Linked DNA regions of Homo sapiens: all the other regions are linked to region 4. Evidence: promoter capture Hi-C in 16 types of primary human blood cells and fetal thymus (Javierre and others, 2016). All regions are on one chromosome and are shown on one strand. Each heading gives the region's core, a stretch centred on a gene start or on the middle of the fragment in contact. The rest is flanking DNA. Distances are from core to core; before and after follow the strand shown.

Region 1 (2,700 bases), core at 191-2,690, 700 kb after region 4:
TACCCTTATAGTCCTAGAATAAGTCTTAATTGTTTTATTCACACACTGCTACATGCAGTTTGCTAGTATTTGTGTCTATGTTCATTCAGGAGAATCGTCAATAATTTCTTTATGTCATCTTTTGCTATTAAGCTTGTGTTGGATTCATGATATGAGTTATAGAAATTTCCGTCTTCTTTATGGTCCGGAATAGTTTAAATACACTGGAGCCACCTGTTCATTAAAGGTCAGACAGAGGACACCCATGAAACCCTCTGGACCTCGAGCCTTTTAAAATGAAAGCTCTTTAATCACCTTCCCAGTGTAGCTACTCGGCTGATTACAGTCTTTCCATCTCTTCTTGGGTTGTAGCTGCAGTCAAACTGGTTCCTTTCCCTTGAAGCCTTCCTCATTTCTGTGTGACATACATCATGGGAGATACAAAGGTCAGGAAGATACAATCCCTGCCTTCAGCAAGTCTTCCATGTAGAAAGGGAAATAAGGAAACTTCATGGACACCCACCATATATGAATTCCGGTTTGGTTTTCGTTTAGGTAGTGCCTTCTCTTTCTAAACCAGCCTAAGCTGAGGTGCAATAGTGATTAAACATGCACGCACGTGCACACACAAAGCTCTGGGCATGCCATCCTACTGCCTACAGAACACAGCCTGAAGGCCTTATCTTGGCACTCAGGCCCTCTGTAATTTGGTTTCAAGCTGTGTCTCTATTCTTATCTCCCACTATCTTCTCTCCTGCGTCTTCTTTTCTGGTAACACTGGACTATCTGACATTTCCCTAAACTCCCTTTCTTTCTCTTCCTCCTACCATATACATCATCTTGCTACTCCCTTCTCCAGAAATTCTGAATGTCCTCCAGCCTTCAACTGATGCCCATTCTTCAAGGATCACTAAAACGCCACCTCCTTCCAAAAACCGACCTGGACTCTTCCCAAAGTAACTCTTCCTCCTCCTGCAGAAATGACCACACACGGTATGTGCACGTGGGTACAAACTGCTCATCAAATGATCAAATGAGTGGCTGAGACAGACCAACCGCTCAGCACCCCAAGCCTCAGTATTCTCCTCTGTAACTGGGATGAATAATGGCACCTGCCTCGTGGCACGTGGGGTGGCCCTGACGATCAAATCACTACTCACAGAACGTTCTGCAAATGCATGGAACACGGCAAACACCCTGCCAAATGAGAACATGCGTTTCCACTCTCCTGCTGGGGCGGTAGTGAGCAACAGGTGTGCACTTTGCTTTGATTTTAAATGTATTTCTCTGTCTCTCACCTTGTCACTGGATTTTAAATGCATTTCTCTACCTCTCACCTTGTCATTGAACTCTGCAGGCTGTGGAAGTTCGCTACACACTAACCCCAGTGTTGCACAGCAGAAAGTAACTGTAATGCTACAACCTGGCAAATCCTATAGAGGTTCTTTTGTACACAATGGTCACCCAGGTACTCCGCAAGGCTACCCCCTCCAGGTCTCCAGCTCCATGAGTCACTGCGAGGAGGCAGGCCGCCCATGAGAACCCCCTGGCTCAGCTCATCACAGCGACCTGGTGGCATCTCACGGACAGGCTGCTCAGGAGACTGGCAGGCAGGGGACAGGAAGTCCTGGGCTCCAGGCCAGCAAGGCAAGTGGGATGGCACAGCAGCAAGCTGGCAGCGCCTGCTGTTTACATGGCTTTCCAAAAGTCACATGCACGACTTCAGAGACACAGGCTCCTCAGACTCCAGGTTAAGGCTCTTCTTAAACAATAGGTAGAAATACAACTTCACTGTGGGTGCCTTACTAGATTAGTTTCCAAATGGAGCTAAGAACTTTAATTGGACATGTAGGTTGTTCTATTTTCAACCAACAGAGGAAGTCCTACTTTAAGTCAACCAATAAATATTCTAAATTCCAACTTAAAAATATACTATATGATATGCTACTGACAAAAAAGATCTTAAAACACAAAACTTTGCCCCAAACAGAAATTTAATATAGATATGATTACTTTTTCTTTTTTTTTTTTTTTTTTACAACAAAATGAAACAGCTGTCAATGGTTTCAAGGGTTTTTTGTTTTTTGAGACAGAATCTCGCTCTGTCACCCAGACTAGAGTGCAGTGGCATGATCTCGGCTCACTGCAAGCTCCACCTCCCGGGTTCACGCCATTCTCCTGCCTCAGCCTCCCGAATAGCTGGGACTACAGGCACCCGTCACCACATCCGGCTAATTTTTTGTATTTTTAGTAGAGACGGGGTTTCACCGTGTTAGCCAGGACAGTCTCGATCTCCTGACCTTGTGATCCGCCTGCCTCGGCCTCCCAAAGTGCGGGGATTACAGGCATGAGCCACCGTGCCCGGCCTCAAGGATTTTCTTTAACTTGAGTTTTAGAACTTGAATAAAACCCAAACTATGTGATTTACTCATCATCTTTACTTGCTCTAAAGTCCACAAACTTTGAAATTAAGTAAAACTTTAACTTGAAACTCACAGGAAAATACTATTTACTCTGATATCTTTGCCAATTTAAAAAATACAGATTCTAGTTGTCTTTGATAATTTTACATTGCTGATTCCAATATTATGCTCTTTTAAAATTAAACCCCCTTCTCCAAAATTTAAGAATTCCTATACCAGTATTAGTAATTATCTGCATTTTGTAAGATATATTAACAATATAAATTATGCTAGATAACAGCCTGTTATAAAAGACATC
Region 2 (2,901 bases), core at 261-2,760, 850 kb after region 4:
AGGCACCGTTCAATGTACACGATACATGGGTGTTTCTCTTTTAAATTTTTTATTTAAAAGATTATTTTAAAAAATTTTAACGGGCAATTTTCCTTGGGTCTTGAAGTCATCATTTCTTTTTCTTTTTTTTTTCTGAGAGTCTCATTCTTTTGCCCAGGATAGAAAGCAGGGGCACAATCACAGCTCACTGCAGCCTCGACCTCCCACCTCCCAGGCTCAAGCAATCCTCCCACCTCAGCCTCCCGAGTAGATTGGACTACAGGTGCACACCACCACGCCCACCCAATTTATATATATTTTTTGTAGTGAGGAGATCTCACTGTGTTGCCCTGGCTGGTCTTGAACTCCTGTGCTCAAGTGATCCTCCCACCTCGGCCTCCCAAAGTGCTGGGATTACAGATGTGAGCCACCACGCCCAGCCTGCGTGGGTGTTTCTACAAAATCTTAAGTATCTCTCACAGCAACCCTGTGATTGCCACTATTATCACTATCCCTTTTCACAGCTGAGGAGACCCAGGTTCTGAGAACTGAGGACCGTGATATATCCTATGCAGTGCTATACTGGGATTTGAGAAACCCAGGCCCACCCAACCCACTTCAAAAACAAAGGTAGGCCAGGCGCAGTGGCTCACGCCTGTAATCCCAGCACTTGGGGAGGCCGAACCAGGTGGATCACTTGAGGTGAGGAGTTCGAGACCAGCCTGGCCAATATGGTGAAACCCTGTCTCTACTAAAAATAGAAAAATGAGCCAAGCATGGTGGTGGGCGCCTGTAGCCCCAGCTACTCGGGAGGCTGAGGCATAAGAATTGTTTGAACCTGGGAGACGGAGGTTGCAGTGAGCTGAGATCGCGCCATTGCATTCCAGCCTGGGTGACAGAGCAAGACTCTGTCTCAAAAAAAAAAAAAAATGTAGATCCAGCAATTCCACTTCTGGGTAGATGCTCCAAAGAATTGAAAGCAGGGACTCCAGCTGATATTTGTGGGATTTTTTAACCTCTTTTTTTTTTTTTTTTGAGATGGGGTCTGACTCTGTCCCCCAGGCTGGAGTGCAGTGGCAAGATCATAGGTCACTGCGGCCTCAACCTCCAGGCTAAAGCAATCCTCTTGCCTCAGCCGCTCAAGTAGCTGGGACTACAGGCATTCCCCACCATGCCCAGCTAACTTTTTTATTTTTTGTAGAGATGGGGTCTTGCTATGTTGGCCAGGCTGGTCTCAAACTCCTGGCTTCCAGCAATCCTCCCACCTCAGCCTCCCAAAGTGCTGGGATGACAGGCCTGAGCCACTGCACCCGTCCTCAACAGATATTTGTACACCCATGTTCATTGCAGCATTATTCACAATAGCCAAGAGGTAGAAGCAACCCAGGAGTCCACCTACCAATGAATGAACAAAATGTGTCTGTCCATACAATGAAATATTATGTAGCCCTGAAAAGGAAATAAATGCTGACACCTGCTACTGCATGGAGGAACCTTGAGGACATTATGCTCAGTGAAATCAGACAGTCACAGCTGGGCGCTGTGGCTCACACCTGTAATCCCAGCACTTTGGGAGGCTGAGGTAGGAGGATCACTTGAGCCCAAGAGTTCAAGACCAGCCTGAGCAATAAAGTGAGACCTCATCTCTACAAAAAAATTTTAAAAGCCAAGTGTGGTGGTGTATTCCTGTAGTCCCAGCTTCTAGAGAGGCAGAGGTGGGAGGACTGCTTGAGCCAGGGAGGCAGAGGTTGCAGTGAGCAGAGATCATGCCACTGCACTCCAGCCTGTGGGACAAAGCCAAACCCTGTCTCAAAAAAAAAAAAAAAAAGAAGAAGAAGAAGAAAGAAGGGAAGGAAGGGAGGGAGCGGAGGAGAGGAAATAAGTCAGTCACAAAGAGGCAAATATGGCCGGGTACAGTGGCTCACACCTGTAATCCCAGCACTTTGGGAGGCGGAGGAAAGTGGATCACTTGAGGTCAGAAGTTTGAGACCAGCCTGGCCAACATGGTGAAATCCTGTCTCTAATAAAATACAAAAAATTAGCTTGGCATGGCGGCGCACGCCTGTAATCTCAGCTACTTGGGAGGCTGAAGCACAAGAATCACTTGAACCCAGGAGGCAGAGGTTGCAGTGACCCAAGATTGTGCCACTGCACTCCAGCCTGGATGACAGAGTGAGACTCGTCTCAAAAAAAAACAACAAAAAGGCCGGGCGAGGTGGCTCATGCACTTTGGGAGGCTGAGGTGGGTGGATCACCTGAGGTCAGGAGTTCAAGACCAGCCTGGCTAACATGGCAAAACCCCGTTTCTACTAAAAATACAAAAAAATTAGCCGGGCGTGGTGGTGCGCGCCTGTAATCCCAGCTACTCAGGAGGCTGAGGCAGGAGAATCGCTTGAACCTAGGAGGCAGAGGTTGCAGTGAGCCGAGATTGCACCACTGCACTCTAGCTTGGGCAACAAGAGCAAAACTCCAAAAAAAAAAAAATGGCAAATACAGCATGATTCCACTTATATAATGTACCTAGAATAGTCAAACTGATAGAGACAGAAAAAAAGTAAAATGTTGGTTATCAGAGCCTGGGGATAAGGGGGATGGAGAGTGAGGGTTAATGGGGACAGTTTCAGTTTGGGAAGATGGAAAAGTTCTGGAGATGGATGGTGGTGACAGTTGCATAATATTTTGTTTATTTCTCTCTCTGTCTCTCTTTTTTTTGAGACAGAGTCTCGCTCTGTTGCCCAAACTGGAGTATGGTGGCGCAACCTCGGCTCACCACAACCTCCGCCTCCCAGGTTCAAGCAATTCTCCTGCCTCTGCCCCCTGAGTAGCTGGGATTATAGGTGCACACCACCACACCCAGCTAATTTTTGTATTTTTAGTAGAAACGGGGTTTTGTCACGTTGGCCAGGCTAGTCTTGAATTCCT
Region 3 (2,700 bases), core at 175-2,674, 750 kb after region 4:
ATGCATCCACACTGACATAAGTAAATGCTTGAATAAAGAAATAAACAGAGGATCGCATGGGCCCGGGAGTTCAAGGCTGCAGTGAGTCATGACTGTGCTACTGCACTCCAGTTTGGACTACAGAGCAAGACCTGTCAAGGAAAGGGAAGGGGAAGAGGAAGAAAAAAAGAAAAGAAGAGAATACGCGAGTCTCTTCAACAGAACTCCAAAGAATGTCTACAGACACTTCCTTGCAAAGAGGTGGAGCACAGCTTGCCACTCATTAAGTGTTGACCCTGCACTCGTACACCATGGGGAGGGGAGGACAGAGTAACTTTACAGGGTGAAAGCTGACAAACACTACTCAGCCAGGTGATCAAGTGACAAGTCATGCTGTGTGATGTTGTGTGCACACACCCTTGATGTGATGTGATGAGAATGGCACTTTAACTCTGTGGTCTTCCTCCCAGAAACCCACACCCCCAGTCTAATCGTGAGAAAAACATCAGACAAATCCCAGTTGAGGGACATTCTACAAAATATCTGACCAGTCAGTACTCCTCAAAGCTGTCCAGGTCACTCTAAACAAGGAATGGACTGGGGGAGCCCAAGGGGCATAACTACTAAATGTAATGTGGTTTCCTGGAAGAGAAAAAAAGACACTAGAGAAATATTAAAGAAACTGAACAAGCTGTGGACTTATTTAATAGCAATATATTAATACTTGTTCCTTAGTTGTGACAAATGTACTACATTAATATAGGATGTTAACAACAGGGACTGGGTAAAAGATACACAGGAACACTCTGTACTATCTTTGCAATGTTTCTGTAAATCTAAAATTGTTGTGAAAGAAAAAGGTTTTAATAAAAAAAAAACTATAAATGGCCTCATCCCAGGTGAAGGTCTGTGGCTGCATGGGAAGTCAAGTCCGCAAGAGAATGAGAGGCTTCAGCTCATACCCTCTCCTTCACACACACACACGCGGACACAAACACACACACACACGCACAAACACACGCACATGCACACACACACACACAGACACACACTGAGGTACTGGTTTGGAGAACTTAGTTCTCTAGTATCATCTTCATCATCCTCAGTTACAAATGCTGACAGAGCATCTACAACCTGTGACATACCATCCAAACACCAATCCCAAAAATGTGCTATCCCAAGGATATAAGACACGGTCCTTGCAAACTAGGTAAAGAGACAGGACTTAAACAATGATGTAGGCCGGACACTGTGGCTCACACCTATAATCCCAACACCGTGGGAGGCCGAAGCCAGAGGACTGCTTGAGGCCAGGAGTTTGAGACCAGCCTGGGCAACATGGCAACTTTACTTTTGTAGACCATCTCTACAAAAAGTAAAAATTGGCCAAGCATGGTTACATGCGCCTATAGTCCCAGCTACTCAGGAGCTGACATGGGAGGACTGCTTGAGCCTAGGAGTTCAGGGATGCAGTAAACCATGACAGTTCACTGCACTCCAGCCTGGGCAACAGAGCAAGACTTTGTCTCTTAAACAAACAAACAAAAAACCAATGATATGAAGATATAAAGTGGTATTTGGTATTTATTAAGTGCAAGTAGTAGACTGGTATGATGAAACCAAACCTTTCTTTTTTTGCTTTTTTTGAGATGGAGTCTTGCTCTGTCACTAGGCCTGGGCACAGTGGTGCGATCTCAGCTCACTGCAACCTCCGCCTCCCGGGTTCAACCTCAGCCTCCTGAGTAGCTGGGACTATAAGTGCCCGCCACCACACTCAGCTGACTTTTTAGTAGAGACGGGGTTTCACCATGTTGGCCAGGATGGTCTCAATCTCTTGACCTCGTGACCCGCCCGCCTCGGCCTCCCAAAGTGCTGAGATTACAGGTGTGAGCCACAGCACCCGGCCCAAAACCAAACCTTTCTTGATTTCAGCCAGCAGTAATTTCTCTCTCCTCTCTCCCGCCCTCCCTTCCTTCTTTTCTTTTTTTCTTCTCTTTCTTTCTTCTTTCTTTTTCTCTTTCTTTGAGTCTCGCTCTGTCGCCCAGGCTGGTGTGCAATGGCATGATCTCGGCTCACTGCAACCTCTGCCTCCTGGGTTCAAGCGACTCTCCTGCCTCAGCCTCCTGAGTAGCTGAGACTTTAGGAGTGTGCCACCATACCCAGCTAATTTTTGTGTTTTTTAGTATAGACGGGGTTTCTCCGTGTTGTCCAGGCTGGTCTTGAACTCCTGACCTCACGTGATCCACCCACCTCGACCTCCCACCGTGCTGGGATTACAGGCATGAGCCACTGTACCCAGGCAGTACATTTTATGTTCTTTCCGTCCCATGTCATTTATAAATCAAAAAATGTGTTAGTGTACCACACATTCTATACCTTAAAACATCACATAAGTTGACCTTTTAAGAGGATGAAATGAGAATAAACATCAGTTCCAATGTTTTCGTCTGGCACCCCATGAAACATCTTGCTCCACAGGTATACACTCTCAAGTTCACCAAGGGAAGGAATCTCTAAGGGCTGGGCCAGGATCAATAACTCAGTAGGGAAGGTGGGTCCGCAAAGAGGTTTTAAAAAAAATAAAAAGATGGCAGCACTTACAGAAGCAGGAAAAGAGGCAATTGCAAACAGGGAGAATATATGGAGAGCCAGAAGATGGGAATTTGCATGGAATATTTTGCAAGCGATAGGCAGATCAAGTTAGCTCTGAAAAAAGTGCTG
Region 4 (2,732 bases), core at 24-2,523:
CCATCCGTGCTCCACGGGCCAGAGAGGAGGTCAAAGGCCCTCACTGTGTGGGAGGATCCCTCGCCCAGGTAGCCGTAGCAAAGCGGAAGCATAGCTGGGACCAGAACCCACCGGGCTTCCAGCGTTTAAGGCCAGCCAGGCCCCTCCAGCTTCTAGGAGAGCCCAGCCCTGCTCCTCTAAGGCAAATGGCAGTAACTGTGTAGGCTGGTCACCCCTCACCGCAGTAGCCTGACTCCCACAAGGCCCTCAGTGACAAAGAAGTTGCCCTGGGCCCAGATACGAGCAGGAGCCCCATCTTAACAGCAGCTGTGAGAGGGTAAACCGGGGGATGACATCAAGCCCACGGCAGGGGCCGGGTGCTCAGGCCCCTCTATCAAGAAGGGGCAAGAGGCTGGGCACAGTGGCTTACACCTGTAATCCCAACATTTTGGGAGGCTGAGGCGAGAGGATCACTTGAGGCCAGGAGTTTGAGACCAACCTGGCCAACATGGTGAAACCCCGTCTCTACTAAAAATACAAAAATTAGCCAGGCCTGGTGGCGGGCACCTGTAATCCCATCTTACTAGGGAGGCTGAGGCAGGAGAATCGCTTGAACCCGGGAGGCGGAGGTTGCAGTGAGCCGAGATCGCGCCATTCTGGGACAGAGCGAGACTCTGTCTCAAGATTAAAAAAAAAAAAAAAAGAAAAGAGGAAGCAGCAGCAGCAGCAGCAGCAAGAGGAATTTCGAGGCCTTTCGCCCAACGCCTGGCGCACCTTAAGCTCTCAACAGTTCTTGAATGAGGAGTAGCATCTCGGAGCCACGAGCGTGCAGAGAGAAGGCACCTGGAGGAGAGCCCCAAGGGACCTGCAGGCGGCTTGCAGCGCAGCGCACGCCCCTGGGGACGCTGAGTCAGAGCCGGCGGCATCGGATCCAGGGCGGGGAGGGGCTCGGGGGAAGGGAAAAATGCGGGTGCGGGGGGCGTGGTTTCGGGTAGTGGAGGGGAAGGATGCGGCCGGGGGTGGATTTGGGGTGGGGAGGGATGCGGGGAGGAGCCAGGGCGCAGGAAGGGAGCTCTGGAACCCCTAGAGGGGAAGCAAGCTGGGAGGGGCGATCGTGGACTCCAGGAGGGCAGGGGGCGCGGCCGTGGGAAGAGACCCGGAGAGGGAGGACGCGGCCGTGGAGAGGGACGCGGGAGCAAGGGGCGGCGGGAGGAGGAGGAGGGCGCGCGGCGCGGCTGACGTGGGCCGGGGTCGCGCAGCGGGCTGTGGGCGGCGGCGGCGGCGCGCAGCGACAGAGCGTCCCCCGGCGAGGACGAGCGAGCACGGCGCCCGCACCTCCCCGCACCGCCCGCGCTGCGCGCCCGGAGGAGCGACCGCCGCAGTTCTCGAGCTCCAGCTGCATTCCCTCCGCGTCCGCCCCACGCTTCTCCCGCTCCGGGCCCCGCAATGGCCCAGGCAGTGTGGTCGCGCCTCGGCCGCATCCTCTGGCTTGCCTGCCTCCTGCCCTGGGCCCCGGCAGGGGTGGCCGCAGGTAAGGCGCTGGGCAATCCGGCCTCCCTGCAGCCGCAGCCCGCCCGGGGCCTGGAACCGTCTCAGCGGGCGAGTGGGCCCGGGAGCAGGGATTGCGGAGGTGGCACCGTGCGCCCTGCGCGCATCTCCCTCCTCGGCTGAGGCCACTGCAGCGCCCTTTCCCCTCTCCTTTCATCCTTGTTCCCCAAAGTCGCCTGGGCACTGGAGGGGGCTCCCCGCACCCCCTGGATTCCTGCTTCCACCCCCCCAGGCTGGCCCTGCCCTGGAAACCGCGCGGGGGTGGCCGGCGCATCCGTCGATGCCTGGGGACCATGCACCCGCTAAGGGAGGGGAGGACGAGGCAGGGAGGCGGGGATGCGCCAGGGTCCGTCATCGCGCCACAATTCCCCAGTCCCCCAGGGAGCACGGGATGGGCAACGTTTTTGCCTTAAAATGTCGCCTCATCTAGAGGGGTTTCCCACCGTGTTGGTGCTGGCTTTGGGGAGATGCGAATTTAGAGCCCAGGAGGCCAGGCTGCCATTTCCTCTCTGGTGGTGATTTCCAAAATGGACCCGGAGCTGACAGGTTCCTGGGGTGTGTGTGTGGGTGGGGGAGTGGGGGAAGCAGGGTTGTGTGTCTACTGCCCCCACTTCCCCACCGCCAGAAAGCCAGCACCCACCTCTCTGCCACATTTTGGGAACCATAAAAGGACCCAGATTTAAGACTATTCGAGGGACAGATGGGACGTGGGCAGCTAAGAAGGTTGAATACTATCCACCACTTTTCACCCCCTCCCCCCTCATAAAAGAGCGGTGGAGAGAGAGAGCAAGGGATCTAATGAAAATTTGTGAAAGAAAAACCATGAGGTCAAAGAAAACCTGCAACTCAGGGATGAATTAGACGAATTTTATGGGAATTGCACTTGGACAAGATTACCTATTTCCTCCTGGAAATACAGGAAAGGGGTCTCTTGTCCATCAGGTTGATTTGTGTCAGAGATTTTCAATGTGTCCTAAATTGCAAAAGAAAAAGAAAATAATAACAAAAGTGAATTAATTATTTGGAAATCATGTGTGGTTCCCATTCTAGCCAATTGCACCCTTGATGTGGTCAAAATCACAGTGGCTAAGAGTGGAGTTGGGAAACATCTTCTCCCTCACCCGTCGGGGAGACTTTTCTACCCTTCCCCTTTCTGGAGTCCATGAATCAGGGATTTGTAAGTCAGAAGTCCATGTACTGGACTA
Region 5 (2,700 bases), core at 91-2,590, 720 kb after region 4:
CTCTTTCTCTCTTGAATCCATTCCACGCAAGGATGTACCATCACCATTTCCCCCTGAACAACTTCTTTCAAGGACGCCAAGGAACTTATGCTGCTGAATCCTCATTCTCCCAGGCTTCATCTTACTCCATTTGTAAGCTGCAGCATTACTGCAATTAATCTTCTTGGAACTTTCAGAAGACTCCTGTCTCCTGGGCTTCTCCCTCCTCACTGCTTCTCCCTGACTGCACTGGCCTCTCCCTGCTGCAGAGCCTCCCCCTGGTTTCCACTTTGAAATTCTCCATGACTTCACCTAGTCTCCTAGCTTTGAATACACTCTATAAAACGAGATCACTCGGATTTACATGTCCAGCCGGGACCCTCTCTCCTTCACTCTTGCTCTGCATTTCCAGTTCAGCTACTTGGTGCCCCCACTGAGTTGTCTAACGGCCAACTCACACCTGACATAGCAAAGATGAACTCCCGACTTCCTCCTGCCTCTCCTGCAGTGTCTGTTGCATTTCAGTTGACAGCAACTCCATTCTTCCAGTTCATCAGGCCCTCAGCAGTCAATCTGACTGCCTCTTCCTCCACAGTCCATGTCTTATCCCCTCTAAGTCTACACCCGCATGCTCTCGTCTGAACATCTGTCTTGGGTCCTACCACTTCTTGCCACCTCCACCGCTAGCATCCAGGTTCAAGCTGCCTGGGCCTGCAGGAGCCTTCTAGCCCATCTCCTCCCTGCTTTCACCTTCCCCCTCTATGACTTCCAGAGTGATCCTTTTAAAAAGGTAACTCAATTACATCATGATCTCTCAAGCACCAGAGTATTTCCCCGTTTCATTCCGAGCAAGGCAGTCTCTAGGCACACAATATCCCAGATCACCTGCCTGCCCTCTACCTCTCTGAGCCCACCTCCCACAATTGACTGTTTGCTGTGTGACCCTCCCAACTAGATATCTAAGCCTTGTGAAGACAGGGTTTTGTTTGATCTCTCATACAGGACTCCACACAGGTCAAGGTTTGACCCATCTTCCTCCACATCGTGCCCCTAGCACCAAGAACAATGGCTGCTACGTAACAGGTTTTGCTGAATGGTGCAGAAGAGAACTCAAACAGTTGGGAGGACATGAAAGATACAGACAACGCTGAAGGGAAGGAGAAGCAGCAGCAGATGGCTGACTACTGGGAAGTGCATCCTCCTGTTGTAAGCATCCTGCTTACGATGTAATCCCTACTCCATTAGGAACCTCTTGCAGAGCACGACTGCAGTACTGTGGAAATGGCTGTAGGAGATTACTCCTTCTGAGCCATCTACGATAAAAAAATCAACAAAGCATTGTTACTACAGGCCACTTGACGGGCTATGAGAGAAGACTAGTTGTTCATGGTGGTCTTCATTGTAAGACTGTATTTACAGTTCTAAAGTGGCTTAAGTGCTATAAGGGGAAGGGATTAAAAAAACAATCTAACCTGAGAAGGATACAAAGCTGAAGCTGCTAAGATTCCAGGTCTCTTTTCCCTTCTTACTTTCTTATGTCAACAATTAGAAAAGTCTCAGATACTTTTTTTTTAAAGGCCTTTGTTATGATCGAAATGTCTGTGTCCTTTGTCCTGCCCAAATCCGTAAACTGAAACCTAATGACCAATGCGATGGAGAGGAGGAAGGCCTCTGGGAGGGAAAGGGATTTGCATCCCTCCAAAAGAGGTTCCAGAGAGCTGCCCTGCTCCTTCAACCACGGGAGGACGCAGCAGGAAAGTGCCACCTTCACCTGATCCGGATTCAGCCAGCACCTTGATCTTGGACTTCCCAGCCTCCAGGATTGTGAGAAATAAATTTCTGTTGTTTATAAGCCACCCAGTTTATGATATTTTGTTATAACAGCCTGTATGCCGTAAGACATCCTTTCTGGAAAAGGCTCGACACACAGCAAGGCTGAAGCTCACGCCCCCACGCTGCCACAGGGGGAATGGGGAAACTCAATTAGTAACGCAGGGCCCACAGGGCACGTGGAACTCCACACAACACAATTCTTCATCAGCCCTGCACTGAACACAGTATCATTCAGAGGAAAACAAATGCAAGTGAAGAGCATCTTACCTTTCCAAACCAGCCATTTCCAATTTCCTGTATGTAGTTTAGACTGTGGCGGGCAACTTGAGACTTCAATCCCTCTGTAGAGAAAAAAACATTAAAAATGAAATATAAGTATCTAAATATTAAATATATAACCTATAAAGTATGAACACTAACATAAAGGCTTGTGCAAATAAAGGTAGGAATAAATACATAAAACACCTCTTTTAAACGAATCATGCCAAAACAGTTTTAGGCTTTAAAACTGACAATATTTTTTAATGAGTTTCCTACCAATTCTTTAATACCTTGCGCATTGTTTTTTTTCCGATCCAGCTACTCTCATGTAACCACCAATCACCAGGCCAATGGCCTTTACTTAGTCTTCATTTTCATCTCTCTTGAACAGCTCACCTAGACATATGATTAGCACTCTTAAACTACTCTCCTTAATTTTTAAAAAGTTTTACTGAAGTATAATCAATATACAATAAAGTCCACATATTTAAAATATACACTTTGATACACTTTAATATTTGTAAGCACCTGTGAAACCATTACCTAAATAAAATACGGAACATCTCCATTACCCCCAAGTCTTCTGATACCCTCAGTAATCCCTTCCACCTGCCCCCATCTCTACAC
Region 6 (2,933 bases), core at 34-2,533, 740 kb after region 4:
TTTCAGGTGCATCTCACACTTCAAGTTAGCTTAACTGGCAGCATTTCTTCTTTTTAATGGTACAAAACTAAGGGTGTGACTTATCATCAACCTCATCTGACATTTGATAAAATACAGCATTATTTCATTTGGCTGTCACAATACCTCTGAGGTAATACGACCAGCTCCACGTCACAGATGAAGAAACTGATATGCCCATGAACCCAGGTGGGACAGTGGCAGGCCAGACTGAGTTTAGGTGTGCTGGGTGCAAGCTCCCTCGCTTTCCTTGAAACCCCACTGCTCTGCCTCTATGTGGTTAACCTTTAACACTTAAAAACAGCCCACTGTCCTTTGAACCCAAGTCTGTCATTAATTAGGGTAGTTTATACTTCCTCAAACTCCACATAGCTGATCTTGACTTACTTTTTCCTCTCTTGCACCCAGAGTTTTTGTTTTGTTTTTTTAAGCATCACAAACTACTTATTTATTACAGAACTGGATAAGGACTGTATGAATGCCAGCCTAATTATCTGATTCATGAAAGTGTCCTCTGTGAGTCACTAGATAGGTATGAAGAGTATAACCAGGTTAAGACCAATGAACTATGCCACGCTTTGCCCTAGCTCTCTGCTACACTTACTTCTGCTAGGGTCTGCAGGGCACCTACTCTCCCTTAGATTTCCTCAGTGTGAACCACACTTACTCAACCTCAGTATCTAACAGTCCCATTAAAACTACTGCCTCAGAAATTGACTAGGTAGCTTCAAGTAGACATTTTTAGTTACCCCTTTTTAAAACTTTAAAGTATTTTTCTTTTGATGAATCCAAAAGCACTGTGCTATAAAAAAAAACTCTATTTAGCAATGAAAAAAAAAAACTTCCATAAAATGAGGAAATCAAACATAGGCTGGAAGGTGAGATGGGTTTGCAGAAACCACAGAGAGGAAGTAAATTCTAGACTTGAGGAACCACAAATAAAATCCCTATACCGCCGTGGTCAAACTAGAAACCAGTCCCTGACACAGTTCCTGACTGCAGCTGTTAGAACCTGATAAAGAAAGGCAGCTTTAACATGCAGCCTACAGCACTGAGAAGGGCATACGTCGAGCCAGTCATCTACCAAACAACATCAAGAACAGGCATCACCATACATTTAGGCAGCTTTTCCCATCACAAATTGAGAGCAAGCACCACATGAGGTCTGGCGGAATACGTATGCTTTCCCCAAGACACTGATTAAAAAACACCCGGCATGTCTACAGCACATTCTGTGAGTTTTCATTTAATAGTTTTCAAAGCATTTTAATAGCTACCTAGAACTTGATTCAATAAGCAGAAAACTTGAGAAACTCTAAGAGGTAGGTACATATTATCTGTTTTAGAGACAGGTAATTTGGAGAATGCAATTTCTCAGTAATGACTCAAGGTAAGCCAGGAATACCACCTATTAATTCAACCATTATAACTCCAGCCCAATTATCTGATTCACGATCTCTAGAACCTCAGATGAAACTGGACCCATATGTAATTAACTAAAGAGTTGTCTGTGAAGCCATTTTGGGATTCAATTAAAAAAAAAATTAAAGGCCACAGATAAAAAGAAATGATGATCAATATTTAGATCCATTAGGGATTACAAAATGCTGGATATCCTAATGTTGTCATTCCTTGTTCAGTCACTAGTGGATATGCTTTTATAAAGAGAAATTTCCTCACATTTACTATTTGGTTACCCAGTGGTTCAAGTCATAAGGAAAAGGCAGACTAGATACTTCAATCTTTCTCTTTGCCAGTTTTTAAAAAATGAGTTGGTGGTTGGGTGCGGTGGCTCACGCCTGTAATCTCAGCACTTTGGGAGGCCAAGGTCGGGGGACCGCAAGGTCAGGAGATTGAGACCATCCTGACCAACATGGTGAAATCCCGTCTCTACTAAAATACAAAAAATTAGCCAGGCGTGGTGCCGCGCGCCTGTGGTCCCAGCTACTCGGGAGGCTGAGGCAGGGGAATTGCTTGAACCCAGGAGGCAGAGGTTGCAGTGAGCCAAAATTGCGCCACTGCACTCCAGCCTGGGCGACAGAGTGAGACTCCGTCTCAAAAAAAAAAAAGTTGGTTCACTAGCATCCTCTGGCAGTGACCAGTTCAGAGAGCTGCTGTCACTGTTTTGTGGTATCATCATGAGCTAATGGATTTAAAGCACCCACAGGCTTCCATCCGTTGTGGTTGTTCTGATTGACACTCCCATTGTCCTGTCTTTGGCAAGCAGGGCCTCTAAAGCGGTTTGCTCCCAAGCCCTCCCACAGGGTCCCGGCAGGCCTGGGTGGAGTTCTTGTTCCCTGGGTTGTTCCAGGCTCATCTTTTATAGTTTCTGTTTCAAACCTCCTATCAATCATTTCCCCAAAGAGCCCTGGTTTCTTTTAAAGTGAACTGCTAATGTAAAGACCTCGGTTCAGGAAGTAGAGCTGCTTATTCACTGCTGGTGTCACAACTACCTTAGAAAACAATGTATCACAGTTTTGTAACATTGAACTTTGGTACCCCTGTGGTCTAAGCAGCTGCTCTCTTCGGGTAATAGGGATCAGGAAACTGTGGCCACTGGGTGAAATCCTGCCCACAGTTTTTGTTTTGGTATGGCCTGAAAGCTAAGAATAATTAAGAATTCACGTTTTTAAATCGTATTTTTAATCCAAAATAACATTTTATGACACATGAAATTTATATCAATAGCTGATAACACAGAAAGACAGACATTATCTCCTGACAGAAAAACACATCACCACCTATGCAACAGTACTGCCCAAAACAAGCAAACAAAAACAATATCAAACCTGAATCTAATCAACCACCTAGATCCAAATGTCAATGTATAGGAAACATTATGAATAGCGAGACATGTGAAATACCACCACAAGAATGTAATCAGCAAAACACAGGCTGTGAAAAACACTTGGGGA
Region 7 (2,771 bases), core at 74-2,573, 770 kb after region 4:
AAAAGACCAAATATTGTATGATTCAATTTTTATGAAATGTCTAGCATAGGCAAATCCATACAGACAGAAAGTAAGTTAGTGTTTGCCAGGGGCTGAAGAGGGAAGGGAATAGATTAGTAATTGCCTGGGGCTGACAGGGTGGGGAAGAAATGAGGAATGACTGCTAATGGGTATGGAATTTCTTTGGGGGATGATGAAAATGTTCTAAAATTTTATCTGTAAATATGTTTAAAGCTATTGAATTATACTTCAAAAAAGGGAGTTCATTACCTGTGCACACAATTACTTAAAAAAAGAGAATATTGACAAAGAGACAGCAGTTACTTTAAAAAGAACCCAATAAAAATTCTGGAGTTGAGAAGTACAATAACTGACATTTAAAATTCACTAGAAGGACTCAATAGCAGATTTGAGCTGACAGAAAAAAGCATCAATGAACTTGAAAATAGGTAAATTGAGATCATCCAGTCTGAGGAGTAGAAGGAAAACCAAATGAATAAAAATGAACAAAGTATAGTGTGGGGGTGGGGGGAGTAGTTTTACCAAAGTGTGGAGAAACCTGACAAGGTCTGCATCAACACTGTTAAGCCATGTTGATACTATGTATTTTTGATATGATGTGATGAGCTGTGGTCTTCATCCTCAATGTATAACATTAGTCCAATCAGACAAATCCGAATTAAGGGACATTCTACAAAATACCTGACCAGTAGTCTTCAAAAATGTCAAGGTCATTTGTTGCAAGTATTTGGTTATTTAAAAAACATTTTTTTTAATGTCAGGGTCATGAAAAACAAAGAAAGTCTGAGAAATTGTCATGGCCAAGAGGAGTCTAAGGAGATATGATAACTAAATATAATGTGGTATCCAAAATAAGATCTTGGAACAGAAAAATGACATTAGGTGAAAACTAAGGAAATCTGAGTAAGATATGGGCTTTAGTTGGAATAATATATCAATAGCAATTCATTAATGATAACAAATATACCACATTAATGTAAAGTAATAACAGGAAAAATTGGGTGTGGGATATATAGGAATTCTCTGTACTAGCTTTACACCTTTCTATAAATCTGAAACTATCGAAAGCTTATTTTAAAAGAAAAAAATAACAAAGCCTCAAAGCTCTGTGGGATGCCATTGAGCATACCAAAATACATAAAGTGGGGGATTCCCAGAAGGAGAGGATAGAGAGAAAGGGAAAAAATATGTACATTTGAAGAAATAATGGCTGAAAATCTCCCAGATGTCATGATAAGTGTTAGGCTACACATCCAAGAAGCTGAAATAACTCCAAGTAGGATAAACTTAAAGAAATCCACATCTGGGCACATCATAACCAACTGTTCAAAGACAAAGACAAAGAGAGAATCTAGAAAGCAACATGAAAAAGAACCTCATTATATATAGAAGTTCCACAATGAGATTAACAGCTGACTTTTCATCAGAAACCATGGAGGCCAGAAGGTTGTGGGACAACAAATTCAAAGTGCTGACATGTTAAAGAGCTGAAAGACAAAGACTGTCAAACAAGAATTATATGTCCAGTAAAGCTTCAAAAATAAAATAAATATCAAGACATTTCCAAATACACAAAAACAGAGTGAAATTGTTGCTAACAATGTTTACTACAAGAGATACTAAAGGGAGTCCTTTAAACAGAAATAAAGTCACTATTCAGAAACTTGAATTCACATAAAGAAATAAAAAACACCAGGAGAAGGAAACTATATCACTAAATATAAGAATATAAATATAAATGTATTTTTCTTTATAACTTTCTTTTCTCCTATCTGATTTAAAAGACTACTACATAAAGCAACAATTATAAAACTGGCAGAGGGACTTATATAAAGATATAATTTGTATGACAATAATAGCACAAAACATGGATGTGGGAAGAGAGCTATACTGGAGCAACGTTTTAAACACTATTGAAATTAAGCTGCTATTAATCGTATCTAGCTTGTTTTAGGGTATTATGTTAATTGTAATTTCTAGGGCAACCACTAAGAAAACTCGAAATATATATTTAAAAACAAGTAACAAGTGAATTAAAATTGTACACTAGAAAATATCTACTTTAGACAAAAGTGGGCAGTAATGGAGGAATAGAGGAATAAAAAGCACATAAGACATATAGAAAATACATAGCAAAATGACAGACATAATCCTATTTTGCTGATGAGCAGCACAGTAACTCACACCTGTACTCCCAGGGATCTGGGAGGCCAAGGCAGGAGGATCACTTAAGCCCAGAGTTTGAGACAACCCTGGGCAACATAGTGAGGCTCCATCTCTACAAAAATTGTTTAAATTAGCTGGGTGTGGTAGCATGCAAATGTAATCCTAGCTTCTCAGGAGACTGAGGTGAAAGGATTGTTTGAGTCCAGGAGTTTGAGGCTGCAATGAGCTATAATTGCACCACTGCACTCCAGCCTGAGTGACAGAGTGAAACCCTTACTTTAAAAAAATTAGTAAATTATCATCATCATCTTCATCGTATCTTATTGATAATTACATTAGATGGAAATGGACTTATCACTCTAATCAAAAGGTAGAGATTGGCAGAATGAATAGGAAAACATCATTCAACTATATGCTGTCTACTAGAGACACATTTTAGATTCAAAGCAAAATAAATTTAAAGTGAGATAAAAGAAAACCAGGAAAAAAGCATCTAAAAGAGAGGTTGAGTGGCTATACTAATATCAGACAATAGAATGTGAAACAACAAGAAAAAGAAGGATATTTTATAATGATGGTCAATC

The links. The method cuts DNA at HindIII sites, captures the fragments that hold promoters and counts their contacts. A CHiCAGO score of 5 or more calls a contact.
Region 1: a fragment that was not itself captured here is called in contact with the fragment with the promoter of TMEM130 in region 4 in 7 of 17 cell types (naive B cells, total B cells, endothelial precursors and 4 more); the score reaches 9.5 in naive B cells.
Region 2: a fragment that was not itself captured here is called in contact with the fragment with the promoter of TMEM130 in region 4 in 4 of 17 cell types (naive B cells, total B cells, total CD8 T cells and 1 more); the score reaches 8.4 in naive B cells.
Region 3: a contact is called between a fragment that was not itself captured here and the fragment with the promoter of TMEM130 in region 4, in 2 of 17 cell types (total CD4 T cells and naive CD8 T cells). The highest score is 7.0, in total CD4 T cells.
Region 5: a contact is called between a fragment that was not itself captured here and the fragment with the promoter of TMEM130 in region 4, in 1 of 17 cell types (total B cells). The highest score is 5.1, in total B cells.
Region 6: a fragment that was not itself captured here is called in contact with the fragment with the promoter of TMEM130 in region 4 in 7 of 17 cell types (naive B cells, total B cells, total CD8 T cells and 4 more); the score reaches 8.5 in naive B cells.
Region 7: a fragment that was not itself captured here is called in contact with the fragment with the promoter of TMEM130 in region 4 in 4 of 17 cell types (naive B cells, naive CD8 T cells, total CD8 T cells and 1 more); the score reaches 7.7 in naive B cells.

The regions. Positions count from the first base shown.
Region 1 is chr7:98,173,421-98,176,120 of GRCh38, reverse strand. The region is part of intron 7 of LMTK2 (lemur tyrosine kinase 2); the gene reads right to left. Among named protein-coding and RNA genes, the nearest start is that of BHLHA15, 37 kb to the left of the region's middle. The HindIII fragment of the contact is 2,612 bases long and covers 135-2,700 here.
Region 2 is chr7:98,018,715-98,021,615 of GRCh38, reverse strand. No RefSeq gene overlaps it. Among named protein-coding and RNA genes, the nearest start is that of OCM2, 30 kb to the right of the region's middle. The HindIII fragment of the contact is 3,693 bases long and covers 1-2,901 here.
Region 3 is chr7:98,114,713-98,117,412 of GRCh38, reverse strand. The region is part of intron 1 of LMTK2 (lemur tyrosine kinase 2); the gene reads right to left. Among named protein-coding and RNA genes, the nearest start is that of LMTK2, 9.2 kb to the right of the region's middle. The HindIII fragment of the contact is 7,004 bases long and covers 1-2,700 here.
Region 4 is chr7:98,868,555-98,871,286 of GRCh38, reverse strand. TMEM130 (transmembrane protein 130) reads left to right here and starts at 1,273. Exons shown (of 8, transcript NM_152913.3): 1 at 1,273-1,510. The coding sequence starts at 1,426. RefSeq lists enhancers at 1,203-1,788, 1,789-2,375. The HindIII fragment of the contact is 4,583 bases long and covers 1-2,732 here.
Region 5 is chr7:98,150,835-98,153,534 of GRCh38, reverse strand. It overlaps LMTK2 (lemur tyrosine kinase 2), which reads right to left. Exons shown (of 14, transcript NM_014916.4): 4 at 2,080-2,153. Among named protein-coding and RNA genes, the nearest start is that of LMTK2, 45 kb to the right of the region's middle. The HindIII fragment of the contact is 4,832 bases long and covers 1-2,700 here.
Region 6 is chr7:98,131,411-98,134,343 of GRCh38, reverse strand. All of the region lies in intron 1 of LMTK2 (lemur tyrosine kinase 2), which reads right to left. Among named protein-coding and RNA genes, the nearest start is that of LMTK2, 26 kb to the right of the region's middle. RefSeq lists enhancers at 844-893, 1,453-1,953. The HindIII fragment of the contact is 4,152 bases long and covers 1-2,933 here.
Region 7 is chr7:98,095,887-98,098,657 of GRCh38, reverse strand. No RefSeq gene overlaps it. Among named protein-coding and RNA genes, the nearest start is that of LMTK2, 9.6 kb to the left of the region's middle. The HindIII fragment of the contact is 464 bases long and covers 1,092-1,555 here.